Linked DNA regions of Homo sapiens: region 2 is linked to region 1. Evidence: promoter capture Hi-C in 16 types of primary human blood cells and fetal thymus (Javierre and others, 2016). All regions are on one chromosome and are shown on one strand. Each heading gives the region's core, a stretch centred on a gene start or on the middle of the fragment in contact. The rest is flanking DNA. Distances are from core to core; before and after follow the strand shown. Region 1 holds the start of WFDC5 (WAP four-disulfide core domain 5). Region 2 overlaps RBPJL (recombination signal binding protein for immunoglobulin kappa J region like).

Region 1 (7,222 bases), core at 2,477-4,976:
GGCTCAGTGACTTGGAAAGAAAGGGTTTTGAAGTGAGGCCCAGCATTGCACGTGCGTCAGCAGTGGCCAGCCTGGTGCACTGTCACAGCCACAGCTGGCCACGTCTTCTGCACCGTTGCGTTCATCACTGTTGCAAATGGCATGGTTTCGAGGATCAGGCGTTAACTCTGTCTCTGAGGCGTTCCTCTGAATGGTATAGAGTGTCCTGTCCCAGAGCTTACCTAACATTCTTCTTGCTGGGATTTTGGGCCATGTTCATATTTCATGCACAAAGCTGGAAATCAGTATCCTCCTCCATGTAGAGGAGGAAATCAAGGCCTGAAAAGGGCAGTGACTTGTCCAGACCCACATGGGCTGGGCTTAGGACTCCCAGGGCCCGGCTCCCTCTGACCTCTGTGAGTGTCCACCCTGAGCTGTCTTTGAGCTGTAGGGATGGAGCAGGTCCCAGGTCTTCAATTCAATCCAGCATCAGAGAAAATGTTCAAGAGTTCCGAGGGGCAGCTGGATCTGGTTCTGTGACTTTACCTCTGTGTCCGCCCCTCCCCCTCAGCCCCCTGCCTGGGTGCTGGCTGCACACATAAGTAGGCACCTTGCTCACATCCTACGTGCGCTAAGTCAACTTCAGCTGTCACATCGGGTTGGTTTAAATTAAATTGCTGCCCCCTGCTGGAGAAAGAGAGGCTTGGCGTGGGGAGGGGGAAAAAGTGTGGGTTTGGGGTGGTGGGGGTGATGGGAGGGTTCCTGGGAAACTGTCTGAGGTCCAAGGTTTAGCCCTGAATTCACAAGTCCAAGTCAAAGGTGCGCAGGCCTCAAAGGGTGGGCCAAACGGAGCTGCGTGCACTCAAAGCCGGTGGAGCCGGGTGGGTCAGGCAGGGAGAGCTTCTGTGGCGAGGGGCCTGGGGCTGGCCTTGGGGAATGGACAGATAGGGATGGGGCATGACAGCTGGCATTTCCAGTGGAAGAACTGCGATAGCTGCAATGTGGAGGTGGGGATAAAAGCCTGGCGTGTGCAGAGCCGGCGTGAGAGGCTCTGGGTGGTCACACTCACTCTGTTTGCCTGCCTTTCCTAACAGTCCCTCCAAACCAGGTTCTCCACTCACAGATGTGTACATCGAGACAGTCACACACACAGATGGTCATCCAGATGCATGCGCCATGGGTGTGTAGACTTAGAGAGCAAAAGAATCGTATCCAAACATGGTTAAATATATACACTTGTACACACAGACGATACACACATAGTCAAATACACAAGCACATTTAGATCTAGACACACAATTAGCTACAGGCTTAACAGTAGGAAACTGCAGATAGTCAACTGTTTTATCTACAAAAGTAGCAATTTTACATGGTTCAACTTAATACACACATATATACATATGGACATATATCAGAGAGTTATATATATGCAATATATTTATAAACATATATAAACAGGCAGTCATGTATGTACATATGAGCTGGAACATAATCACTGTCATTTACACATGCCTACCCACATAGATACATACACACAGATAGACACTCAGACACACACAGTTATGTATATAAATATATAAATATATAGCATATGTATGTGAACAGAGAGACATACATAAGCATACACAGTCATATATACAGAATCATATGCACAGAGCTACACAGACACATATATCTTCCCAATACCACATAACCACTGACAGCATTTAATTAGGCACTTGCTGTTTATCAGGGACTATGCCAGGCTCTTTGTATCAGAGACACCCAGACGTTTGAGTGAGAAGGGGGCAGAATGGGGAGCTCTTATAAACAGAGGCGGCTGGGCTTCCACAGGCAACAAACTGAGACTTCCCTTCCCTTGGCTTCGTCACCTTCCTCCATTGTCTGAAATTCTACCAACAGCTCGGCAATGTCTTACAGGAGAGAAACCAGTGGGGGACAAGGTGTGGTGAACTGGGGGAGAGACAAGCTTGTCACACCTGCCCATGCAGAGTGGCCCTGCGCAGGCTCGGTTTCTGCTGTGCCAGCTCTTTGCCTCTGAGCAGCTGGGCTGAATATTGGGGTGTGCTCCCTGGGAACACAATGACTCCCCCAAATCACCCACTTATGCTGTGCTTACTGTGTGCCAGGCCCTTATTCCTCGAGACACCATTTACTCCTGAGAGAGAGGCATGGGACCCCATTTTACAAGGAGTAAGTCTCCAGACCTGTCCTGTTGCCTTCCAGGAGTGTCCTGCCTGGAAGTCCTAATAAACTCATGCACTTGCCAATCTGGCCTTGTCTAAGTCATTCTTTGTTCTCTCAGCTCCTTCCTATGTTGGGGGTGCATTGTCCTGTACAGTCCTGGGTTTTTGCTGTAATAGTTGGTAAAGTGAATCTTTCTGATTTCAAATACTTGCACTCATGCACTTGCTAATCTGGCCTTGTCTAAGTCATTCTCTGGTCTCTCAGCTCCTTCCTATGTTGGGGGTGCATTGTCCTGTACAGTCCTGGGTTTTTGCTGTAATAGTTGGTAAGGTGAATCTTTCTGATTTCAAATACTTGCATTCAAATGCCACATTTGGCACTAACTCAGAGTCAGTCTTTGACCTTGTTAAGTGGTTCCCCGCTATGCCTCAATTTTCCTCATCTGCAAAATGGGGATGAAAATAGTCCTGTCCTCACAGCACCTTGTCGAGGAGTTACGTGATGATGGTGCATGAATCACAGCCAACACAGGGTCCAGCCTTGGAGCTCACCAGTGTACTTCCTTCCTCAGCCTGTCCCCATTACTGTCCCCTTTCTTTAAGGCAGGGCAAGGGTTGCACAGGTGAATGTAGGTTGGAGTGTTCCAGCCCCAGAAAAGGACGCAGGTGGAGGCCTCACCCAGATCAGGAGTCACCTGTCTAGCCACTCAGCAGCCCTCCCTCACCTGTCAGCAGGCCAGCCCCAGCCTTGTCAGGGGTGGGAATGGGGACAGGAGGTTGGGGGCGATGAGAGTTAGAGACAGAGCTTCCTCCCCACAAAGCCCAGATCCCAGAAGCCACACCCTCTCCTCAATTCCCAAGTCCCTTCCACAGATGGGGTGGTGGACCCACTGACCCAGTCACACCACAGCCCAGCAGGCACAGACAGGGTCCCTCCCCACACCTGAAGGCACAGAGACACACATGGACAGGCACCAAGCTCAGACACATGCGTGCAGCCATTCCTAAGTGTACGTGTGCAGACAGAGCTTTGCACAGACAAGCAGACGCAAAGACACATGTCTACACAGACACAGGCACATGCATTCCCCGCCCTGCCACCCCCTGACATATAGACAGGCACAGACAAGCACCGAGAAACTGGCAGAAAAGACACTTACAGATACCAACACAGGCAGGTGGACAGGCACAAATGTACACACATAAAAACACAGGCTTCTGAAAGCACTAAGAATCAGGCATCCACACATACACACACGCACGCACGCACACACACACGCGCACACACACCCCACAGGGCATTACCTGCCTTCCCCCAAACCCTTACTCTCCCTAGAGAAGTAGAGACAATCTGGTCCCCCCAGCAGAGGGATTTCCCGCACTCACCTCCCTTCTTCCTGCCAAAGACAGCAGGCAGCTGACTCCCCACAGCCAGGAGGGCCCCCAGGAGGAGAAGGCTCTGGGTCCTCATATTTCTGCTGCCGGCTCAGGGCCCAGGGCCCCCCAGATTAACACCTGCAGCCTCAGGGAAGCCAGAGAAACTTAGTCAGGAGAGGAAAGAGAGGGGGTGTGGAGTGACACCGTGCCTGCTTCATCTTGGCCCCACCCCCTGAGGGCCCGAGGACTCAGTGCAAGGGATGCTGTCACAATAGCTGAAGATAGGGTGGCGGCACATCCTGCATGTGGGGGACTCAGATCCAGTCTTGCCTGTATCGGTGACTTGGGCTGTGATCTTGGGCAAGTCTTGTCTCTCTGGGCTTCAGTTTTTTCATCTGTACACAGGGTGAAGGTTGTTGAGGCAGATGCTTGCTATCCTGGCTCTCAAAGATGTTGAAGCCCCAGCGATGTCTAGGCAGCGGGTAGAGGTCAGCTTTGAATAGCAAAGGAGTGGGGGTTTGCAGAGTTCTGGATGCCTAGGAAGGGAGAAGGCATTAGGGTTAGGCCAGAGCTTGCAGCCAAAGAAGGCTGGCCCAGGCTGGCATAATGAGTGAGGCCAGCCCTGGCCTCTCCTCTTGGGTCCTGTGGATGGGAGAAAGACCACCCCGCCTTTGGTGAGATCACCAGTGGCTTCTGATAGAACTGCCCTCTTCCTGGGGCTGGCTTGGCTGTTGAGGGTGGGGGAGCATGGCTTTTGGCTTGGCTAAGTTTGCTGGTCACAGCAGATGTGTGGCCACTGGAACCTCTTCTCTGGCCCTAAGGGATCCTGAGCAAAAAAATGTCATCTCATCCAGGGACCCCCACCTTAGATTTCGTATCTCTGATGTTGCCTCCTGCATTTGGTAGAAGAGAGGGAGCTGAGACTTGGCATCCTAAGGGACATCCTAAACAGAAACTCCATCGAAGTACATTCTCTCAGCCTTCTCATTTGAAAGACGAGGAAACTGTGAGATAGAGATGAGAGGGGACTGGCCCAAGGACACGCAGCTAATTCCTGACTAAGCTGGGACTTCCCACTGTGGCCTCCCCATCACCCTCATTCAGTTCCTGGGTTTTAAAAGCAGGTCAATACCTCATCTGATCCTGAGAAAGGAGGGTGATATTACAGGGCTTGTCTCACTTACCCATTCCAATCCAGGACAGCCCTGGCAGCAGGAAGTTCTTCCTTGGGTTTAATGTGAATCTCTCGTGCTGTCTTCTAAGCTATTAAGATAGGAGAGGCTCTGTCTTCTATGATCTGATGTTGCTTTTGGAATGCTGGCACCTCCTTGGAAGCTTTATTTTGGAGGACAAATATATGAGCCCTTCCTTCCTCCCTCCCTCCACCCCTCCCTCCCTCCACCCCTCCCTCCCTCTTTCTTTCTTTTTTCTTTTCTTTCTTTCTTTTTCTTTTTCTTTCTTTCCTTTTTTCATTTCTTTCTTCTTTCTTTCCTTCTTTCCTCTCTTTCTTTCCTTTCTCTTTCTTTCTTTTCTTTCTTTCTTCTTTCTTTTTCTTTCTTCTTTCTTTCCTTTTTTATTTCTTTCTTCTTTCTTTCCTTCTTTCCTCTCTTTCTTTCCTTTCTCCTTCTTTCTTTCTTTCTTTCTTTCTTTCTCTCCTTCTCCTTCTTCTTTCCTCTCTCTCTTTCTCTTTCTCTCTCTGTCTTTGACAGAATGTCGCTATGTCACCCAGGCTGGAGTGCACAGTGCCATCATGGCTCACTGAACCCTTGACCTCATGGACCCAAGTAGTCCTCCTGCCTCAGCCTCCTGAGTACCTGGGACTATAGGCATGCGCCCCAATATTTGGCTAGTTTTTATTTTTTGTAGAGATGGGGGGTCTTCCTATGTTGCCTAGGCTGGTCTCTAACTCTAGGACTCAAGTGATTCTCCCACCTTGGCCTCCCAAAGTGCTGGGATTCCAGGGGTGAGCCACTGTGCTCAGCCATGAAATGCTCTTTTTTTTTTTTTTTTTTTTTTTTTTGAGACGGAGTCTTCCTCTGTCATCCAGGCTGGAGTGCAATGGGGCAATCTCTGCTCATTGCAACCTCCGTCTCCTGGGTTCTAGCAATTCTCTGCCTCAGCCTCCCAAGTAGCTGGGACCACAGGCGCCCGCCACCATGCCTGGCTAATTTTTTGTATTTTTAGTAGAGACGGGGTTTCACCATGTTGGTCAGGCTGGTCTTAAACTCCTGAATTCAGGTGATCCACCCGCCTCGGCCTCCCAAAGTGTTGGGATTACAGGCATGAGCCACCATGCCAATGCTTTTTAAATTAAAATTATTTTGTAGACATTTTCCTGTGCTGTGAAATGTTCTCTAAACATCATGTTTTCTGATGGCTACATGCTGTTTTGTTAGATCTATATGTCAAAACATCACTTCAGTAAAGTTTTTAGGGAAAAAAGATATGCCAAAATATACACAATCAGTATCCTATTATGAAACATGGAGGTTTCCAATTTTCCACTTTCATAAATAAAGCTGTGATAACCATCTTTTTGTGTACATTTTGGAGTCACATCTCTGACTGTTTTCTTAAAGTAAATTTGTCAAAGTTAGAAATGCTAGGTCAAAAGGCACAGTCATGTTTCCAGGCGTTGGATATATCTGGTCAAATTAAATTTCAGAAAGGAAGTAAGTGAGTGTACAAGAGCCTCCACCTGCCCTGCCATAGACCTCTATTGTTTCGTCTGCCCAGCGTCTCTTCCTTTGGTGGAACCATTGCCTCCTGACTGCTGTCATTCTGGTTGGTTGCCAATCAGCAGGTACTTCTCCTATCAAAGCTGAGGGCACTGGATCCAGGTTACACCCACTGCACTCTTCTCCACCCCTAACTTGCCCACGCCTTCATTAGAGTCTTGAACAGATAAGCCAGTTCTCTAAACAGAACAGTCCAAAGCTCAGATGCTGTTGCTCACAGCCAAAGATCCTTAGTGGATATTCTTACTACATACAGGATATTAAAAAAATAAGTAAATAAAATCTTTGCTAACGGAAAACAATATTTCATTTTAATTTGTCTTCCTCTTCCTCTTAATACCCATGATGGTGAGCATTTCTTCATATTCGCATACTGACTGTATCCTTTCTCTGTGAATTGCCTGTTTTTGTATTTTGCTCATTTTTATTGGGGGTCCTTTTATTTTTGAGTTTTAAGAGCTGTTTATATATTAAGAATCTATTAACCTGTCATACACAAGGGGCAGTAGTGAACAGATGTATATTGGAGTTAGGCAGACCTAGTTTTGAATCTTGGTGCCATAGGCTCTATCTGTTTGACATTAATTTTGTAAAACCCCTGTTTATTTTTGTATACCAGTAGAGATAGAGATAATCATATACGTGTTATAGGATGGTTCTGAGAACTGAATGAGATAAACTTGATAAATGCTTTGATGCTATATTGCAAATATTTCTTTCCTCATTTTTGCTTAGTACCAAAGGATTAAATTTTGGGGTAATCAATTCAATCTTTTCATTCATATTTTCTCCTTTTATTTTTATGCTAAAAAGGCTTTTTGACTCTGATGTTAGATAAATATTCACTATATTTACTTGTTATTATTTTGTGATTTTTGAAAGACATGATAATTCTTTAATCTAGCTGAAGTTTATCTTGGTATAGAGCGTGAAATAGGAAAT
Region 2 (7,222 bases), core at 4,723-7,222, 200 kb after region 1:
CTCGTCCAGAGGGCGGCGGGTGAGCGGCTGGGGCCCCGTGGAGCCACCATGGACCCCGCAGGGGCAGCAGGTGAGCGCTTACCCTCCCGAGGCCCCGGAGACGCCCCGTGAGAACTACGAAGGACCACCCCCCCACCCCCTCCCCACTATACAAATAGGAAAACTAAGCCCCAAGGAGGCAGCCCGCCGAACTGCAAAAGCAGGATTAGAACCTAGGGCTCCTGGTTCCCCTTCTCTCTCTTGAGGCCCCCTGGCGCCTAGAATTCACTAAACCTCATTTCCTTCCAGCTCCTACCCCACCGCCGCGCCCCATGCTGAAGCTGTGTTAGCCATTTTTCTGTTGCTGTTTCTTGGCAGAGAGGGCCAGCTGCCCCTAACCCAACAGCAGCTCCGCCCCCGCCCCCCAATTCCGTGAATGCGCCTATTCTGAGCGAGGCCAGTGCCTGCTTCTCACTCCAGGCGACCTTCTCATCCCGGATTCTTCTCCCTTTTCCCCTCCCAGGCCTGGTAGAAGAACATAAATCCTCTGGCAGGGCCCGTCGTGGGAGGGTGACCAAGCAAGATGTGGCAGCGCTGGTGGAAGTGGGAGGGCGGGGAACCCTTGTCAAGCTTGGGCCACAGGCAAAGCCAACATCCCTGGACAGCATGAGGGCTAAGGCACAAGGGGCCTCTGCCACCTCCCATACTTTCCTACCCGGAGATGCCTCTGGGCCCCTAAATCTTGGTTAAGGTTCCCCTCATCCCATTCTTGGTCTGAGCCAACTTCTCACCTGGCACCCTGCCTCCACCCCAGGAATCCTAGAAAGTCAAAATAGCAAATGCCTCAAAGTTCATCACCTTTCCAAACCCCTCATTCTACAAAGAAAGGAACTAGGTCCAGAGAGGGTAGTGTCTTGCTGAAGGGTACATGGCGATGTCGTGGCAGGACTGATACTAGAACCTGGGATTCCTCTGAGGAGTTAATCCTTGCATTAAAAAAAGAAAGATTCAGAGATGCCCTGAGGTGAGGTTGAGGGAGTGGAGCAGCAAGGGAGGAGAGGCCTGTAAATAAATTCTCAAAAGTCCCTTAGGGACATTTCAGGGGGTTCCTGGAGGGATGAGAGTAGAAAAGGGATGATCCTATTTTGATGGCTTTGAGGGTGGGGGCTCGATTTGGAAAGGACCCTGCAGAAGTGGGGAAGGGCACTGCAAATCAGATAGGGCACCCTAGGCAGCGTCTCTGCTAAAATACACTCGCCTGACCTGGCTTGATGCCTACTCCCCTGCAGACCCCTCAGTGCCTCCCAATCCTTTGACTCACCTGAGCCTGCAGGACAGATCAGAGATGCAGCTGCAGAGCGAAGCCGACAGGCGGAGCCTCCCGGGCACTTGGACCAGGTAACGGCGGCGTGGCAGCGTGCCCTAGGTGGGGACTGCCAGGCAGCTGGAGCACACAGAGGCAACGGCCGCATTTAACCCAGGGCTGGCGGGTGGGGAGGGGAAGTGCAGGCTGCAACCCCTCCCACTGGCAGGGAGGGATCCCCCCTTCCTCCTGAGGGGGGGCAAACCCAGCACCCCCTGCTCCTACCACGCTTGGAGCTGCAGACAGGGCTAGCTGCGGGCCAGGCTGGAATTCAGCTACAGCGGGAGACTGGGGAGACCGGGGCAGCCACACTCCACAGCCGGAATTCATTGGAAGCTTAGAAGGCACTTCCCTGAGGAGAGCCCCAAGGGGTGGAGCGGTCCTGGCTGTGGCTGCTGCCTGTCTGGCCTGGCTTTCGAGGGTGCGGTCTTGCGCTGTCCCCTCCAGGAGTGAGGAGAGACTCTGGTCCTGCCAAGAGGAATAAGGGCTCAGAAGGACAGCCTCAGTTTTCATGGCTCTCCTTGGGCCTCAACCTGCTAACCCCCCAAATCTCTCCCACCTCCCCTCCTCTACTTGCTCCCTGCAATTGCTCGGGCCTACCCACCCACACCGCTCAAGACCCCCAGGTTAAGAAGCCACCAGACCTCTAGGCTCTAACCTGGCTCACTCTGCAGGACCAATGTCATCTGCCTTGACTCCTGTAATCAAGGGTAGGAAAGCCCACACAGCAACAGGCCACTTCTCATGGGAGAAAGGGAAGAATATGGCTTTGGCCCCAGAAAGGCTCAGATTCCCCCAGGCCATCCCCCATCCTGAGGACAAGGTTTTGGGCCCTTTTCTGTTTGCAGGCAGGAGGCTAGAGAGCGCTCCAGGCCAGGAGCCCAGGAAAGGCTCTCCCTTCCCCTCCCTCCTCACCCCCCACCCTGCCTTCCCCAGGGTGGGGAAGCTTCATCTCTACCAATTCCATCAGCCCTAAAATACTCTTCTCCATCCCAAGGCCAGTATAAGTGCAGCCTTTGTGTCACAGCCACGTGTCCCTATGGCCCTGGGCTCCAATGGGCATGATGCCAGACCCACAGAGTGGAACCTGGGTGGTCCCATGGGTTCCATGCAGGCTTCGTTGAGCACCTTGCAGCCTAAATATTTAGCCTACAATTTGCAGCCAAGTCTCCTCCTTACCTAATGCTTCCTCTTCCTGACCCCACAGGGGCAGGATATAGAGCAGCCCCACCCTCCCACTCACTCTAACCCCCTGCTCACTTCATTTTACTCAACCTGAGTGCTTGGACCCTGTGCCACCTTGACCCTTCTCCCTCCTGTGGCTGGTCGACCTGCCTGCCCTACTCCCAGGTCATCCCCAGAGCACACCACCATTCTGAGGGGAGGCGTGCGCAGGTGCCTGCAGCAACAGTGTGAACAGACTGTGCGGATCCTGCATGCCAAGGTGGCCCAGAAATCATACGGAAATGAGAAGCGGTAGGTGCCTCCGCAGCCCCTCCCAGGTCTCTGCAACTGTCAGCCCTATGCACCTCCTCCATCCACCCATTGGGCCTCTTTTAGACGCAGAGCAGGCCTCAGGGCTGAGATCTCAGCTATTGGTCGACCAGGGCCTTGACCCTCAGCCACCATTAGCCCCCACTTTGGTCTATAGTTCTACAGCAGGAGATTCCCTGTGAATCTCCTGTCTCCATTCATTCACTCATTCTCCCATTGATTCACTTATTCATTCATTCAACAACTACTTACTGAGTGTTTGTCATGTATGCACCAGGCTCTGTGGGTACTGCTGGGCACTGGGCATACAGCTGAACAAGACAGAAACAGCCCCTGCTCTGTAGCCCACACTCTCACTCAAGTGTGGAAGAGACAGACAGTAAACTCCCCACAAGTCAGGAAACAAGATACTTGCAGATTATGATGAGCACTAGAAGGAAAACTGAACGAGGCCATTTGACGGAAACTGAAGGCAGGGGGGACATTAGCTAGAAAGGTCAAGGAGGTTGAGAGACCTTTTGGGAGGTAACATTGGAACTGAAACTTGAATGCTGAAATGGAGCCAGACAGGAGAATATCTGGGGAAAGCGTGCTACAATTAGAAGGAACAGAAGGGCCGGGCGCGATGGCTCACACCTGTAATCCCAGCACTTTGGGAGGCCGAGGCGGGCGGATCACCTGAGGTCAGGAGTTCGAGACCAGCCTGGCCAATACAGTGAAACCCCCTCTCTACCAAAAAATACAAAATTAGCTGGGCATGGTGGCGGGCACCTGTAATCCCAGCTGCTCAGGAGGCTGAGGCAGGATAATTGGTTGAACCCGGGAGGCGGAGGTTGCAGTGAGCCGAGATCATGCCACTGCACTCCAGCCTGGCGACAGAGCAAGACTCAGTCTCAAAAAAAAAAAGGGCAACAGAAAATGGGAAGACCTTGAGGCTGTACCAATTAGGCCTGTTTGAGGTACAAAAGAAATGACAGTGGCTGAAATCAGAGGGAGGAGTTGTAGGAAACAAGTCAGAGAGGTAAGCAGGGGTCAGATCTCAGGAGGACTTTGAATTTTAAACCAGTGGAGGATTTTAAGGAGTTAACATGATTTGACTCATGTTTTTAACAAAACACTCTGGCCAGCCTGGTGGCTCATCCCTGTAATCCCAGCACTTCGGCAGACCCAGGTGGGCAGATTGCTTGAGCCCAGAAGTTCCAGACCTGCATGGGCAACATGACAAAACCATGTCTGTACAAAAAACACAAAAATTAGATGGGTGTGGTGGCTTGTGTCTGTAGTCTCACCTACTCAGGAGGCCGAGGTGGGAGGATCAGTTGGGGAGGCAGAAGTTGCAGTGAGCCCAGACAGCCGAGATCAAGTTACTGCATTCCAGCCTGGGCAACAGAGCAAGACCCTGCCTCAAAAAAAAAAAAAAAGAAAAAGAAAAAGAAAGAAACAGGAAGGAAGGAATGAAAGAAAAAAAGAAAGAAAGAGAGAGGAAGGAAGGAAGGAAGGAGCACTCTGGCTGCTGTGCGAAATGGGAAGGAGATAGAAACAGAACTTTCTGGAAATAGACCAGTTTGAAGGCTGATGCTGTGGTCCAGGCAAAAAGTAATGGCGGCTGGGATGAAGGGCGAGGTGGTAAAAAGCCAGTGGATTCTGGATATATTATATTTTGAAGGTGGAGTGGACAGGACCTTCTGATGAGTTGAATGAGGGGTGTAAAAACAATAAGGTTTGGCTATGAATGGGGTTTACAGTCGTGAAAAAGCGTTGCGGGGAGCGGGAGGAGGAAACGAAGGTTCTGCTGGGTTTATGCTACTACCTTGCCGTGCTTACAGGAGAGCCAAGTGGAGATGGATGCACGACTCCAACACTCACTTATCTCCGCAGGTTCTTCTGCCCCCCGCCCTGTGTCTACCTCTCGGGGCCTGGCTGGAGGGTGAAGCCAGGGCAGGATCAAGGTGAGGGCGGAATCAAGGGCTGCCGGCCGCCTGCTCTGTAGGGAGGACCACGAGATTGGGCCCGAGACGGGGCGGTTCGCAGGCGCAGTCTCCCCGCGCCCTCTGGCGGCGAGCGCTAAGCTTGCCTGGCACCTGCGTCCTCCCGAGTCCTTGCAGAGCCAGTTCGCGTCCCTTTCCAGCTCACCAGGCGGGGGAAACGGGGCCCACGGTCTGCGGTTACATGGGACTGGACAGCGCGTCCGGCAGCGCCACTGAGACGCAGAAGCTGAATTTCGAGCAGCAGCCGGACTCCAGGGTGAGAGCGCACGGGAAGGGGTCCGATTCCTGCTCCCATCCCTGCCTCTCCTGGGAAAGGAGGGCTCCTTTACTCCCCTCCGAAAGCCAAGAGATAGGTGGGGAGACCGGGAGGCCGGGGTCCTGCCTTAAGGCCGAGCCTGAGAGCCTGGATGGTGGAGCTTCTGGTCACCTCCGACGGGGCGGACGTCCGATATCTGGGAGAGGTTGGTTCATCCGACGGGGGAGGGCTGGGATGAGATGGCCCTGTACCTGTGAGCCCCCTAGGAATTCGGCTGCGCCAAGACCCTGTACATCTCAGATGCAGACAAGAGGAAGCACTTTCGGCTGGTGCTGCGGCTGGTGCTGCGCGGGGGCCGGGAGCTGGGTACCTTCCACAGCCGCCTTATCAAGGTCATCTCGAAGCCCTCGCAGAAGAAGCAGTCGCTGAAAAACACCGATCGTGAGCAGGGCGGGGCCTGACCCCCGGCCCGGGCGGGGAGGTGCAACCAAGCCCAGAACGGCTAAACTGGGGCGCGGAGGTGGGGGTAGGCTGGGCTTAGGGGTCAGAGTGGAAAAGGTGGAGTCGGAGCCGAGAGGGGAAGGAGTCTGGATGAGTGGGTGCGGCCCAGGCCTGGGGATGAGAAGAGTTGGAGGATGAAAAGCAGAGAGGAAAGGGACAGATACCAAATTCCAGGTTGGGAGTTGGGGTCCCAGAGCAGACAAAAGTTGAACTAGGCAGGAGTTGAACTAGGGACAGACTAAAAGTGACATAGGTGGGGCACGGTGGCTCATGCCTGTAATCCCAACAATTTGGGAGGCCAAGGTGGGCGGATCAGTTGATCCCAGAAGTTCAAGACTAGCTAGGGCAACATGGCGAAATCTTGTCTGTACCAAAAAAAAAAAAAAAAAAAGAAAAAGAAAAATTAGCCTGGCATGGTGGCCTGCACTTGTTGTCCCAGCTACGTGGGAGGCTGAGATCAGAAGATCACTTGAACCCAAGAGGTCGAGGCTGCAGTGAGCTGTGATAGCACCACGGCAGTCCAGCCTGGGTGACAGGGTGAGATGCTATCTCAAAAAAAAAAAAAAAAAGTTTTACTTTTGTTTGTTGAACTGAAAGATGTCCAGACAGCAAAGGAACAGGCAAAGGTTCCAAAGCAGGACTGCAGCAGGTCCTGGAAAAACAGCTGTGAACTGGGAATGCCCAGTGTATCTAGGCCTGTGGGCACATTAGCCAGGCCGGCACAGGGACAGAAGATTGGAAACTGTCTGGAAAGTCCAAGGAACCAAGCCAGGACAGGGCACTGATAGCACCAACTAACCTTAACCCTCACCCTGACCCCCTCCCTCACCCTAACCCTCACCCTAATCCTAATCCTTACCCTCACCCTCACTCTAACCCTCACCCTAATCCTAACCCTCACCCTCACCCTAACCCTCACCCTAACCCTAACCCCAATCCTAACCCTAACCCTATCCCCTCACCCTAACCCTGACCCTCACCCTCACCCTAACCCTGACCCTCACCCTCACAGTGTGCATATCCTCCGGCTCAAAGGTCTCCCTCTTCAACCGCCTGCGCTCTCAGACGGTCTCCACACGCTACCTCTCTGTGGAGGATGGGGCCTTTGTGGCCAGTGCACGACAGTGGGCTGCCTTCACGCTCCACCTGGGTAATGACATCTGCAGGCCCTGGAGCTGGGCACTTCACATGCATTAGCTTATTTAACCTCCACCACAACTCCTTAAGGAAGGTAAACTCTGCCCCATGTGATTAAGGCTCAGAAACACAAAAAGACTTGACTACAGTCCCAGTGAGCTGGTGACTGTTCCAAGCTATTCTGACTCCCTTATCCATGCCCTTTCCCCATATATCAACTAAGCTGCCTGCCCCCAACCCCTGCCCCCAGGGCAGACATTTGTGAGGATGGCCTCAAATGGCCTCTCCAGAATTAGAACCTTCAGTTGGCTCCCCTGAGTACCAAGCTTTCCCGCAGGGCCCATGTGTGATGTGAGGAAGAGCCAGAGGCAACAAGGCAGGGTTTAAGGCAGAAGCTTGGGGGCCGCTGAAAACCTTGTCCCTTGCTTTTTTTGTCCCCCAGCTGATGGGCACTCTGCCCAAGGAGACTTCCCACCGCGAGAGGGCTACGTTCGCTATGGCTCC

Evidence for each region. Contacts are between HindIII fragments. The CHiCAGO score rates a contact against its expected background, and 5 or more counts as called.
Region 2: a contact is called between a fragment that was not itself captured here and the fragment with the promoter of WFDC5 in region 1, in 1 of 17 cell types (endothelial precursors). The highest score is 5.2, in endothelial precursors.

Annotation. Positions count from the first base shown.
Region 1 is chr20:45,111,448-45,118,669 of GRCh38, forward strand. WFDC5 (WAP four-disulfide core domain 5) reads right to left here and starts at 3,727. Exons shown (of 4, transcript NM_145652.4): 1 at 3,552-3,727. The coding sequence starts at 3,636. RefSeq lists enhancers at 3,163-3,664, 3,665-4,164. The HindIII fragment of the contact is 2,929 bases long and covers 1,947-4,875 here.
Region 2 is chr20:45,306,875-45,314,096 of GRCh38, forward strand. RBPJL (recombination signal binding protein for immunoglobulin kappa J region like) reads left to right here. Exons shown (of 12, transcript NM_014276.4): 1 at 1-70; 2 at 1,269-1,377; 3 at 2,693-2,818; 4 at 4,715-4,785; 5 at 4,965-5,080; 6 at 5,347-5,521; 7 at 6,594-6,731; 8 at 7,161-7,222. The coding sequence starts at 49. It overlaps MATN4 (matrilin 4), which reads right to left and starts at 1,425. Exons shown (of 10, transcript NM_001393530.1): 1 at 1,301-1,425. RefSeq lists a silencer at 4,749-4,798. The HindIII fragment of the contact is 2,139 bases long and covers 4,904-7,042 here.